Linked DNA regions of Homo sapiens: region 1 is linked to region 2. The links are contacts of gene promoters, found by promoter capture Hi-C in blood cells and fetal thymus (Javierre and others, 2016). All regions are on one chromosome and are shown on one strand. Each heading gives the region's core, a stretch centred on a gene start or on the middle of the fragment in contact. The rest is flanking DNA. Distances are from core to core; before and after follow the strand shown.

What was found. The method cuts DNA at HindIII sites, captures the fragments that hold promoters and counts their contacts. A CHiCAGO score of 5 or more calls a contact.
Region 1: a fragment that was not itself captured here is called in contact with the fragment with the promoter of CXCL3 in region 2 in 1 of 17 cell types (megakaryocytes); the score reaches 8.1 in megakaryocytes.

What each region holds. Positions count from the first base shown.
Region 1 is chr4:74,128,805-74,135,380 of GRCh38, reverse strand. The region is part of intron 1 of LOC105377277 (a long non-coding RNA gene); the gene reads left to right. It also overlaps a transcript of MTHFD2L not described here. Among named protein-coding and RNA genes, the nearest start is that of MTHFD2L, 26 kb to the left of the region's middle. The HindIII fragment of the contact is 511 bases long and covers 1,987-2,497 here.
Region 2 is chr4:74,037,241-74,043,868 of GRCh38, reverse strand. CXCL3 (C-X-C motif chemokine ligand 3) reads left to right here and starts at 5,180. Exons shown (of 4, transcript NM_002090.3): 1 at 5,180-5,357; 2 at 5,456-5,579; 3 at 5,693-5,776; 4 at 6,592-6,628. The coding sequence starts at 5,258. The coding sequence ends at 6,607. LOC105377275 (a long non-coding RNA gene) reads right to left here and starts at 4,924. Exons shown (of 2, transcript XR_938875.3): 1 at 2,922-4,924; 2 at 1,247-2,381. The HindIII fragment of the contact is 4,426 bases long and covers 1,295-5,720 here.

The sequences.
Region 1 (6,576 bases), core at 993-3,492, 94 kb before region 2:
CATGTAATGGTTCCTAATTGTTTCTAATGATTCTTAGTATTTCTGAGGTCTCAGTTGTCATGTGTCCATTTTTGTTCCTACTTTTATTTATTTGGGTCTTCTCTCTTTTTTTCTTATTCTGGCTAAAGATGATTTGGAGCTCCTTTATATGCTGCTTGCTTCTTTTCTCTTGCTGCCATTACAGTTTTATCTTTATGCTTGATCTTTGACAGTTTGATTAGTAAATACCTTCATTAGTCTTATTTGACTAATGTGATGCTCTAAGGCCTTCCTGTACCTGAATATTTATATCTTTCTCATGTTTTGGAAAGTATTCTCTTATTATTTCTTTGAATAAGCTTTCTACCCTTGCTCCTGCTCTGCTCTCTCTTGAACATCAATAATTTTTAGATTTTGTCTTTGAGGTAATTTTCTATATCTTGTAAGTGGCCTTCTCTCATTTTCATTCTTTTTTTCTTTTCTCTCCTCTGTTTATTTTTTAACAGCCAGTCTTTGAGCTCATTGATTCTCTTCTCTGCTTGACCTATTCTGTGGTTGAGATCCCCTGAAGAGTTTCTTAGTTCAGCAAATGTAGTTCTTAGTTACAAGATTTCTGCTTATCATTATTTCAATTTCCTTGTTAAATTTCTCTGATAAATATCTGAGTTGCTTTTCTGTGTTATCTTAGAGATAACAAAGTTTCCTTAAAACAGCTGTTTTGAATTCTTGGTCAGAGAGTTCACAAATCGCCATCTCAGGAGGGTCAGTCGCTGGAACTTTGCTTTGTCTAGAAGGTTATGGTTCCATGTTTGCTGTTGTTTCTTGTGGGTATACATCTATGTATTTGTATTAATAATTATTTAGTCCAGCTTTATCTGTCTAGTTTGGTTTGGTTTTTATTGAATACAGTTGCTTATGAATCTTAACTGCCAGCTTGCTGCCTTGTTTTCGGCTCTAGATGGCGCCATAAGCCTATGTTTACCTTGACTTTTGCAAATGGCCATGGCACTGCCTGTCCCATAAGGAGGAGGACCAAAGGGATTACCCTAGCACTGTGGGAAGGCCGGCCACGGGTGTGTTCCCAGGGGACTTGTGGAACATACTTGCTACATGATTTCTACTGATTTGGCATCTCCTTTGGTCAAGTTACAAGGAGTTTTTACGGCTGAGGATGGTAGTCCTGGCTTCCCTATTTGTCTTTGCCAGCCTTCACAGACATTTCTCCCTCCAGGCAGTCACAGTGCTACCTGTGGTTTAAGGCAAAGGCAGGTCTCCTGGCAGGAAACCGAAGAAGATGGGAAAGCTGGTTGACAATCTCAATTTCACGTTTTTCAGTGCAGAAACCATGAGTTGAGGGCAGATTTTTCATACTGCTGATGCCTGGTGTAATGCAGGGAAGAGGCCTCATGGATGTAGAATCTGGTTCTCCTACCATCTGCTCAGAATGTTTCCACTTCTCTGTACCTACAGGAACTGTCTCATCCTCATACAGGATCTCTGGGTTGCTGCTGGTGAAGATCTTGCTGCTGTGTATTTCTTTTTGGTTTCTGGTGGAGGGGAGAGAAGCAAGCTTGCTTCTATGCTGCCATTTTGGGATTAGAAAACCGATATGTGAACTTTATAACTAAGAATTCAAAATAGCAATTTTAAGGAAACTCAGTGACCTACAAGATAACATAGAAAAACAATTCAGATACTTATCAGAGAAATTTAACAAGAAAATTGAAATAATAATTTAAAAATGAAACAGAAATCTTGGAACGGAGAACCACATTTGCTGAATTGAAACACTCTTTAGAGGATCTCAATAACAGAATGGGTTAGAGAAAAGAATCAGTGAGCTCAAAGACTGGCTATTAAGAAAATACAGTCCAAAGAAAGAAAAGAAAAAAACAATAAAAAGAAATGAAGGCCACCTTTAAAATATAGAAAATTACCTCAAAAGACCAAATCTAAAAATTATTGGTGTTTAAGGGGGAGCTGAGCAAGAGCAAGGGGAGAAAAGCTTATCCTAAGAAATAATAACAGAGCACTTTCCAAAACTCATGAAAGACAGAAATATCTAGATATAGAAAGGTCAGGGAACACCAAACAGATTCAACCCAAGTAACACTAACCAAGGCATATAATAATTGAACTTTCAAATATCAAAGACAAAGAGAAGATCCAGAAAGCAGCAAAAGAGTAAAATAACAAAGCAACTCCAGTTCATCTGGCAACAGACTTCACAATGGAAACCATGTAGGCCAGAAGGAAATAGGGCAGCATTAACAAAGAGAAATTGTCTTTCACAGACAAAAGCTAAGAGAATTCACCACTACTAGACCCGTCTTGCAAGAAATGCTAAAGGGAATTCTTCAACCTGAAATTAAAAAATGCTAACATATTAGTGTACTAACTAAAAGAAAATATTTCAAGGTATAAAACCCACTGGTAAAATTAAGTATGAACACAACCCCAGAATATGCTAATAATTTAATTGTGGTGTGCAATCCAATCATAACTCTAGTAAGAAGCTTATAAAGACAAATCTATCAAAAACAATAATAGCGACAACAACCTGTTCAAAATAGATATTTTTAAAATATGCGAACTGATATAATAAAAATTCAAAGTGTTTGTGGGAGGTGTGGAGTTAAAGTGTAGAGCATTTTTTTCATTATTATTATACTTTAAGTTCTGAGATACATGTGCAGAATGTGCAGGTTTGTTACATAGGTATACATGTGCTATGGTGGTTTGCTGCACCCATCAACCCGTCATCTACATTAGGTACTTCTCCTAATGGTGTCCCTCCCTTAGCGCCCCACCCTCTGACAGGCCCTGGTGTGTGATGTTCCCCTCCCTGTGTCCATGTGTTCTCATTGTTCAACTCCCACTTATGAGTGAGAACATGTGGTGTTTGGTTTTCTGTTCTTGTGTTAGTTTGCTGAGAATGATGGTTTCTAGCTTCACCCATGTCTCTGCAAAGGATGTGAACTCATCCTTTTTTATGGCTGCATAGTATTCCATGGTGTATATGTGCCACATTTTCTTTATCCAATCTATCATTGATGGGTATTTGGGTTGGTTTGACATCTTTGCTATTGCTATAGTGCTGCAAGAAACATACCTGTGCATGTGTGATTATAGTAGAATGATTTATAATCCTTTGGGTATATATCCAGTAATGAGATTGCTGGTCAAATGGTATTTCTGGTTCTAGATCCTTGAGGAATCGCTACATTGTCTTCCATAATGGCTGAACTAATTTATTCTCCCACCAACAATATAAAAGCATCCCTATTTCTCCACTTCCTCTTCAGTATCTGTTGTTTCCTGACTTTTTAATGATTGCCATTCTAACTAGTGTGAGATGGTATCTCATTGTGGTTTTGATTTGCATTTCTCTAATGACCAGTGATAATGAGCTTTCTTTTTATATATGTTTTTTTGGCCGCATAAATGTCTTCTTTTAAGAAGTGTCTGTTCACATCCTTCACCCACTTTTTGATGGGCATGTTTGTTTGTTTTTCTTGTAAATTTGTTTAAGTTCTTTGTAGATCCTGGATATTAGCCCTTTGTCAGATGGATAGATTGCAAAATTTTTCTCTCATTCTATAGGTTGCCTGTTCACTCTGATGATAGTTTCTTTTGCTGTGCAGAAGCTCCTTAGGTTAATTAGATCCCATTTGTCAATTTTGGCTTTTGCTGCCATTGCTTTTGGTGTTTTAGTCATGAAGACTTTGCCCATGCCTGTGTCCTGAATGGTACTGCCTAGGTTTTCTTCTTGGGCATTTATAGCTTTAGGCCTTATGTTTAAGTATTTAATCCATCTTGAGTTAATTTTTGTTTAAGGTGTGAGGAAGGGGTCCAGTTTCAGTTTTCTGCATATGGCTAGCCAGTTTTCCTAACACCACTTATTAAATAAGGAATCCTTTCCCTATTGCTTATTTTTATCGTTTGTCAAAGATCAGATGGTTGTAGATGAGTGGTGTTATTTCTGAGGCCTATGTTCTGTTCCATTGGTCTGTATATCTATTTTGTTACCAGTACCATGCTGTTTTGATTACTGTGGACTTGTAATATAGTTTGAAGTCAGGTAGCATGATGCTTGCAGCATTTTTCTGTTTGTTTAGGATTGTCTGGGCTATATGGGCTCTTTTTTGTTTCCACATGAAATTTAAAGTAGCTTTTTCTAATTCTGTGAAGAAAGTCAATGGTAGCTTGATGGGATAGCATTGAATCTATAAATTACTTTGGGCAGTATGGCCTTTTTCACAATATTGATTCTTCCTATCAATGAGCATAGAATGTTTTTCCATTTGTTTGTGTCCTCTCATTTCCTTGAGCAGCGGTTTGTAGTTCTTCTTGAAGGGTCCTTCACATCCCTTGTAAGTTGTATTCCTAGGTATTTTATTCTTTTTGTAGCAATTGTGAATGGGAGTTCACTCAGGATTTAGTTCTCTGTTTGTCTATTATTGGTGTATAGGAATGCTTGTGATTTTCGCACATTGATTTTGTATCCTGAGACTTTGCTGAAGTTGCTGATAAAGCTTAAGGAGATTTTGGGCTGATATGATGGGGTTTTCTGAATATATAATCATGTCATTTGCAAATAGAGACAATTTGACTCCCTCTATTCCTATTTGAATACCCTTTATTTCTTTCTCTTGCCTGATTGCCCTGGCCAGAACTTCCAATACTATGTTGAATAGGAGTGGTGAGAGAGGGCATCCTTGTCTTGTGCCGGTTTTCAAAGGGAATGCTTCCAGCTTTTGCCCAATCAGTATGATATTGGCTGTGGGTTTGTCATAAATAGCTCTTATTGTTTTTAAATTTGTTCCATCAAGACCTAGTGTATTGAGAGTTTTTAGCAGGAAGGGTGCAGAATTTTATTGAAGGCCTTTTCTGCATCTATTGAGATAATCGTGTGGTTTTTGTCATTGGTTCTGTTTATGTGATGAATTACATTTATTTTTTTGCATATCTTGAACCAGCCTTGCATCTCAGGAATGAAGCGGACATGATCATGGTGGATAAGCTTTTTCATGTGCTGCTGGATTAGGTTTGCCAGTATTTTATGGAGGATTTTCGCATCAATGTTCATCAGGGATATTGGCCTGAAGTTTTCTTTTTTTTGTTGTGTCTCTGCCAGGTTTTGGTATCAGGGTGATGATGACCTCATAAAATGAGTTAGGGAGGAGTCTCTCTTTTTCTATTGTTTGGAATAGTTTCAGAAGGAATGGTACCATCTCCTCTTTGTACCTCTGGTAGAATTCGGCTGTGAATTTGTCTGGTCCTGGGCTTTTCTTGGTTGGTAGGCTATTAATTACTGCCTCAATTTCAGAACTTGTTATTGGTCTATTCAGGGATTCGACTTCTTCCTGGTTTAGTCTTGGGAGGGTGTATGTGTCCAGGAATTTGTCCATTTCTTCTAGATTTTCTATTTTATTTGTGTAGAGGTGTTTATAGTATTCTCTGATGGTAGTTTGTATTTCTGTGGGATCAGTGGTGATATCCCCTTGGTCATTTTTTATTGTGTCTATTTGATTCTTCTTTCTTTTCTTCTTTATTAGTCAGGCTAGTGGTCTATCTATTTTGTTAATCTTTTCAAAAAAAACAGCTCCAGGATTCATTCATTTTTTTGAAGGGTTTTTCGTGTCTCTGTCTCCTTCAGTTCTATTCTGATCTTAGTTATTTCTTGTCTTCTGCTAGCTTTTGAATTTGTTTACTGTTGCTTCTCCAGTTCTCTTAATTGTAATGTTAGGATGTCGATTTTAGATCTTTCCCACTTTCTCCTGTGGGCATTTAGTGCTATAAATTTTCCTCTAAACACTTCTTTAGCTGTGTCCCAGAGATTCTGGTATGTTGTGTCTTTCTTCTAATTGGTTTTAAATAACTTATTTATTTATGCCTTTGTTTCATTTAGTTATCCGGGAGCAGATTGTTCAGTTTCCATGTAGTTGTGTGGTTTTGAGTGAGTTTCTTAATCCTGAGTTCTAATTTGATTGCACTGTGGTCCAAGAGTCTGTTTATTATGATTACTGTTCTTTTGCATTTGCTGAAGAGTGTTTTATTCCAATTATGTGGTCAATTTTAGAATAAGGATGATGTGGGGCTGAGAAGAATGTGTATTCTGTTGATTTTGGGTGGAGAGTTCTGTGGATGTCTATTAGGTCTGCTTGAGCCAGAGCTGAGTTCAAGTCCTGAATATTCTTGTGAACAGTTTTGTTTTTTAGTTTTCTCTTTTATTTCTATTTCATTTGTGATCTAAGTTGTCATCTCCTTAAAATAACTTGTTATATTTAAAAGATGTTTATTGTAAGCCTCAAGGTAACCACAATGCAAAAACCTATAATATTACAGTAAAAATAAAAAAACAATGAATTAAAAGCTTACTGTCAGAGAAAATCACTTAACCACTAAGGAAGATGGTAATAAAGGAAGAGAAGAGTCTCAGAACAACCAGAAAACAAGAAACAAATTGTCAGTAGTAAGTCCTTACTTGTCAATGATAGCACTGAATACAAATGGTCTCAATTCTCCAATTGAAAGTTATAGAGGTGCTGAATGGATAAAGAAACAAGACCCAAGTACATGCTGCCTTCAAGAATG
Region 2 (6,628 bases), core at 3,931-6,430:
TTATTTAATGAATCCCACTTCCAGAAAGTTTAGGAAACAATCTTAACAAAATGAAGAGGCAAAACAATTTATAAAAACACTTTTAAATACAAATAATTGCCCATTCTTCCACCCCCCACCCAAGAAAACCGACCAAAGCTAAAATATTGAATGATTCTCAGTGTTACATGAATGATTTTAAGTACTTGCATATTGATCATATCACGAGATTATTATACCAGGAACAGAAAAATAAATGATCTGGCATTACAAAAGAAAGTAGACAGATTAAATGAAGAATTTTGTGTTAGAAGTCGGATTTGATCCAACTTTGTCTCTTCTACTAAACCTATCACTGTGCCTTATATGCATAGATTAATTTTAAGTGTACCGGAAGAAAGAGAAGCTGCCAGACAAGCAGTCTCCAGGAGGCTAAATAGAGAGGACCATGAATTCAGCACGCACCATGGCCTTGGACTGTGGAGGTGGACTGATTCAGGAATCTAATGTCATGTTCACACATCTTCATTCTTCTCTGCTCTGAGCCAGAGTCATTACATTGGAAGAGATGAGTATAGGGAAATAGGGATAGCAATTGTGAGGAAGAAGTTCCTAAATCAGTCTGGGGCAGAGCAGGGTTGCCCTCCTTATTTGAGCATGGTTATTTCTCAGGATGGAGCAGTGCCTAAGTTTAGGCTCCTCCAAAATGCAGAATTTGAGTCATGAGCCTGCCATGCAGGTAATTTATTTGGGGACATATTACCAATGCAGAGGACTTGAAAGCTGGGAAGAACAAACTAGGAAAAGAGGACATGGGCAACTGGAGTTCAATTCTACTGGGGACCCTCTGAGAAATGGTGTAGAATTTCTGCCCAAAACATGCAAAAGAGGGAAACATTTATCCATTGACCCCAGTTCCTCTTGTGAAAGGGATGTTTCCTGGCAGCAACAGAGAAACACTGGGCCACAAAGTGAAAGATACCTGATTCAGCTGAGGCCAGGAGTTTCCAGGTGACATCTGCAGGCAGCTAGTGTTGTAGCAGTGACTGGAGAACAGGTGGCCTAGGAGATGTGAGCACCGAGATTTGACCGTCTGCCAGTTTTGTAAGGTTCCATAATGATTACAGGGCAAATGGAATTTGGCCACCAAAGCTTCCATTTTTAAAGATTCTTCCATTTCTTTAAGAATTTTTGCTTGAATAAGTTTAAAGACTGCATAAAATTCTGGCATTCAACTGTTGAAAAGAAAATAGGCTTGGAGAAACACTTGCTCTAACAAGACAATTTATTTTTGTAGTCAACAGCATTATAAGCTTTGGCTTATGAAGATCTCATTGATACAAGCGGCATGTTAGGGAAAAACACCACCACCACCAACAACAACGAATCCTCTCCTTTATACTTCATTTACAAAAACAAGTGATTCTGATGACATTTTCCTCAGGAGTCAAGTTCTGCATAACCTGCAAATGTCCACGGCCTCTTGACATGTTTCATTTGCATTATTCTCTTGGCACTCTCCTTGTGTTGGGTCTGGAGAGCATGATAGCAAACACTTTCTGATTTTCTTCAGTTATAAGAACTAAATGAGAGATCTGGAAAACATAATGCTGAAGGCAAAGTATTTAACACTATGAAGCATGATGAACTGCCCAAACTGCGGCAACAGATATTTTGAATTTTCATATTTGAGCAAATATGTACTAAATCAAAATTCAATTTCCTGTCTAGAAAGCTAGCAGGTAAAACATGCACATGCCCTGATTTCATTTTGGTGGTATTCTAAATGGATTTAGAAAAATAAACTTAGAAAAAAATGAACTTAATTGGGACAATTTTCAATTTACAAACATTGCAAAGATAATACAGTGTCTGTGTGCCCTTCATCCTTTTTCCCTGACAGTGAACATTTTACAACAGCACGGAACGTCTGTTAAAGCTAATAAACCACCAATGACACGTTACTTTTAACTAAACTCCAGACTAAGTTGTGTTTCACCAGCTTTTCCATTAATATCATCTTTCTGTCCCAGGATCCTATCCAAACTACCACACTGCAATGAGTTGTCACTTCTCCAGTTTCCTCTGGACTGTGATGGTTTTTCAGTCTTTTATTGTTTTCATGACCTTGACAGTTTTGAAGAGTACTGATTAGCTTTAGGAGTCTTCAGTATGAGTTTGAAGAATGTTTTTTATCATAACTAGATTTGGGTGATGAATTTTTGGAAGTGGTACCAAAGAGGCATCCTGCTTATGCCATTCTTATGACATCATATCAAGTGGGTACATGATATCCATATGACATCACACTGAAGACGTTTATCTTCACCATTTTTTTAAAGAAGTAGTTTGTCAGCTTTCTCCATGGAAAAGTGCCTATTTTATTCTTCAGAATTGGGCACCTTAAGGAAAGATAATGAGCTACATCAATGCCACAGGAGAGAGTTATGCTGTTAGTGAAACAAAACTACAAAGATATATTATCGTTTTGATGTATTTTCATTTTAAAATATGTAAATTTAAGCTATTCAACTAGGTCAAGAACAAATACATTTTTAAAAATCCTTCCTCCCCTTAAAGTACTAATTATATATCACAGTGCATTTTTACCATAGTTTAATGGTTAAGAGCCATTTTCTCTGGGTTTGATTTCCAGCCTCAAGGATGTATGAAGTTAAGCAAGTGACTTAATCTCTCTGTACCTCAGTTCCTTTGTTTGTAACCATTAAGTCCCATAAAGATAACAATTAATATCTACTTCACAGTATTGTTTGGAAGATTGAATGAGTCAATATTTGTAAAATGCTTAGAAGAGCATTAAATAAATTCTCTGCCCCTTGTCTCTGGTGCAGAGGTTTAACTTGCCCATAGCATGAAGTTATTAAATAAAAAAGCAGCATGTTCCACATTTACCCAGAATCTTGTAAGCTCTTATCATTTACCTTATGTTTGCTGAAGAAAAACAAGCAAATTTTTAATGACCTCCCATCTATGTGCATCTCCTGGTAAAGTACAGATGTGTCTTCCTTTCTGAAAGCCTTCCTAAATTAAAAACATTTAACTTTTTTGTTTTTTATAAATTCCCAATTGAACTTTATTTTTCATTTATAAGTTTGCAGCATTTATTACAGCTTGAAACTGCAGAAGACATTTGGGACACTATTTTGGCCTCCATTGGGTCAATGTTTTTTCTGTATCTATCCTTTCTTTCAAGGAATTTAAGTAGTCAGGGAGATGTGAGAGAGGAAATTATTGAAAAAGAATGGAGCATATATATTACCTATAGTGTCTATTTTAAAGTAACAGGACATTCTAGCACACCTTTCTATCCCTTGTCCAAGATTATTGTAATGACATCACAGATACCCGTGAGCACCAGTAACTACAAGACCATTTTGGAAACTGGGATTGTGGTGTTTATATGAACATTCTTCTTTCTAGGATGTGCTTTGATTTCTTAAGGACTCACACTGCTTTATATCAGTTAGAGACAGGGAGAGTTGGGTGGCAGTAAGGGATACAGAAAATTTTAAATGTGAAAAACACTGGGGAGTAAAACTTTCCATTAGATTCTTCTTTTTTCCTTTACAGAATTCATAGCAGGCTGAGTTTTTGTTCAGGCAATGTCGGGAAAGAAATAGCCTTTTAAAAATGGAAATAGTCCATTTTATTTATTTAACAACCATTAATAAGGCACTTAATCCATGTTGTCTCTTACAAATGTTAACTCATTTCTCATAACCACCTTGGGCTAGGCACAGAGAGGCTTAACAACTTGCAAGTGATACTCTGCAACTAAATACAGGCAGCACAGTTGCACGCTCTGTGTTTGGTTAGGGGCAAGGACTCTTATCCCTTGAGCTGGGTTGTGTAGAGCCCTGTGCTTCAGGCAGATGCCATTCCTTTCTCCTCTCCTCCATCCTACTCCACGTCTCAAAGAGGTCTGAGACCAACTTGTAGAATCACACTTAAACCCTCTAAAACCTAATGACAAATCAAAATACATTATCTAAAACTAGAAAAAGGGACAAAGGTGTCAGGTTAAAAGACTGAAAATCCAGACGAGAAAAAAAAGTGCCCTGTTAATGTTTCCAGAGAAAGATCCCCCAGTGCTGAATACCAGAAAATTCTATAGTAAATGAAATGTGATTTTATGTGTGATCTGGTGTTTAAATGTCATCAGCAGGCAGCTGTTTGCTCCTTCAGTGGGAATGGTGTTTGCACACCAGGTACCTACTCTCTAGTGTCATTCGCAAAGACAGAACCAGAAACATTGAGCCCATGATCCTGCTGGACCCAGCCCCTCCACAGCTTCAGAGTGACAGCCAGTGTCATATTTCTAGATCAAATCTGAATCCCTCCCACTGGGAGAAGGTCTCCAGGGGATTTAGGAAGTTCCAACATTTCAGAGGGAGGAAGGACGTTATGCAGGATACAAAAGAAGAGGTCATGTTATACAGCCCTGGCTTCCACGGACACTAACACTGAATTCAAATTTTGACACTGATAATCTGTTGCCACCAAATGGAAAACGTAAACAAGGTATTCTAAGTGTGATTAGAGAATATGCAAAACAAGGAACAAGTAGAACATTCTTCTCTGGAATCCGAGACGATGGCTGTACTTTCACAGAGAGCATGATGTTAGATGTACATGAAATAACGCTAAACCGAAAATGAGAGAGGCAGAGACCGGGAGGTTAACATAGAGGATAGACTATATAGAGAGAGGATAGCTGAGGGAAAACTCGCCTGTCTCCGGGTCCCCAGCAAATCTGATAACTAAGGAGACAAAGCTCTCTTCCTCTAAAGAAGTCGTGCCTTTCCTGTCCTGGTTCTCACGGGTCCCCCCAGCTCTTTCCTCCAACCCTACCCCGTACGCGGGGGGTCATCGGGGACCTAAGGTCCCCCCTCACAGGCTGTATCTTCAGCGAGGTGGACTCACTGCCTCTCCAGGAATTTGGGGCAGAAAATGAATATCCCAAAGTCCCAGAGTGCACGGGGGTTACTCTGGAGGGCGAGGCGTAGGCGTCACCAGTGGGCTCCCCCTACCCGTATCCGACTCCACCCCGGGGGCGGGGCCGTCGCCTTCCTTCGGGACTCCGGATCGATCTGGAGCTCCGGGAATTTCCCTGGCCCGGCCGCTCCGGGCTTTCCAGTCTCAACCATGCATAAAAAGGGTTCGCCGATCTTGGGGAGCCACACAGCCCGGGTCGCAGGCACCTCCCCGCCAGCTCTCCCGCTTCTCGCACAGCTTCCCGACGCGTCTGCTGAGCCCCATGGCCCACGCCACGCTCTCCGCCGCCCCCAGCAATCCCCGGCTCCTGCGGGTGGCGCTGCTGCTCCTGCTCCTGGTGGCCGCCAGCCGGCGCGCAGCAGGTGGGTCCCGGCGCCCTGGGGTCCCCGGGCCGGACGCGGCTGGGGTGGGCGCCCCGCGCCGACAGCCCCGCTCAATCAGCGAGTCTATTCTTCCCTAGGAGCGTCCGTGGTCACTGAACTGCGCTGCCAGTGCTTGCAGACACTGCAGGGAATTCACCTCAAGAACATCCAAAGTGTGAATGTAAGGTCCCCCGGACCCCACTGCGCCCAAACCGAAGTCATGTAAGTCCCGCCCCGCGCTTCCGCTGCCACCGCTGGGGTCCCCGACTCTCCCGCTGCCCCAACCCTGTCCCCAGCCCGACCTCCTGTCTCACGGAATTCCCTTCTCTCTGCAGAGCCACACTCAAGAATGGGAAGAAAGCTTGTCTCAACCCCGCATCCCCCATGGTTCAGAAAATCATCGAAAAGATACTGAACAAGTGAGTTGTAATTTCCATATACACAGGCGACTGGAGCCGTTGGTCAGAAATACTGGCATCTGCCCCCTAAAAATAAAATCAGGGAACCCCAAGAGTTAGCTGAAGGACTAGAAATTGTGATTATTATTTTCACAATTAAAGTTGCCATTAAGGTTATTAATCTGCTCTGGTGCCAGAGGATATTTCAGTATTTCAGTGTCTTCCATTTCCAGGCCTAACCCCTGGGAGGGTAAATGTGGGTTTCTAGAATACTAAGTAAATTTGACTAACAATGCCAAAATGCCCCCTGCCTGTTTTGGGACGTTTACCTCAGTCCCTAATGGGCTTCAGACCTGAAAAATGCAATGTCTGGTTTGGGCACTTTGGGCCTGTAAGCCTTCTTGGTGAAGAGCAGAAACTTTGCAGTAACACCTTCAGTGAGTTCAAGGCTAGGATCCCTGTCAACGTTATTTAATCTCTTTGAGCTTTAGCAAAATAGGGTAGATAATGGTAGTTATTTCATAGGGTTGTGTGCAGCTTAAGGGAGATCATGAATGGACATTTCTAACCCAATGTGACAATCAGTGACCAATATGTTTTGGCTTTTTCAAACCAAGAATCTAGTTGAGTCCACAGCCACTTCTTTCTTGAAAAAAAAAAAAAAAGCATTCAGGAGTGCAAGTTTTCTGCTATAGAAGGCAGTGGGTACAGACAGACCTTCCCTGAGTGGAGGGCTGGGAGAGAGTCTGCATGGGGACATCCCTCCAAGCAACTTCAGAGTGACAGAAGAGCAGCCTTCCTTAGCACCTGCAACAGTAACCCTTTTCTCATCACAGGGGGAGCACCAACTGACAGGAGAGAAGTAAGAAGCTT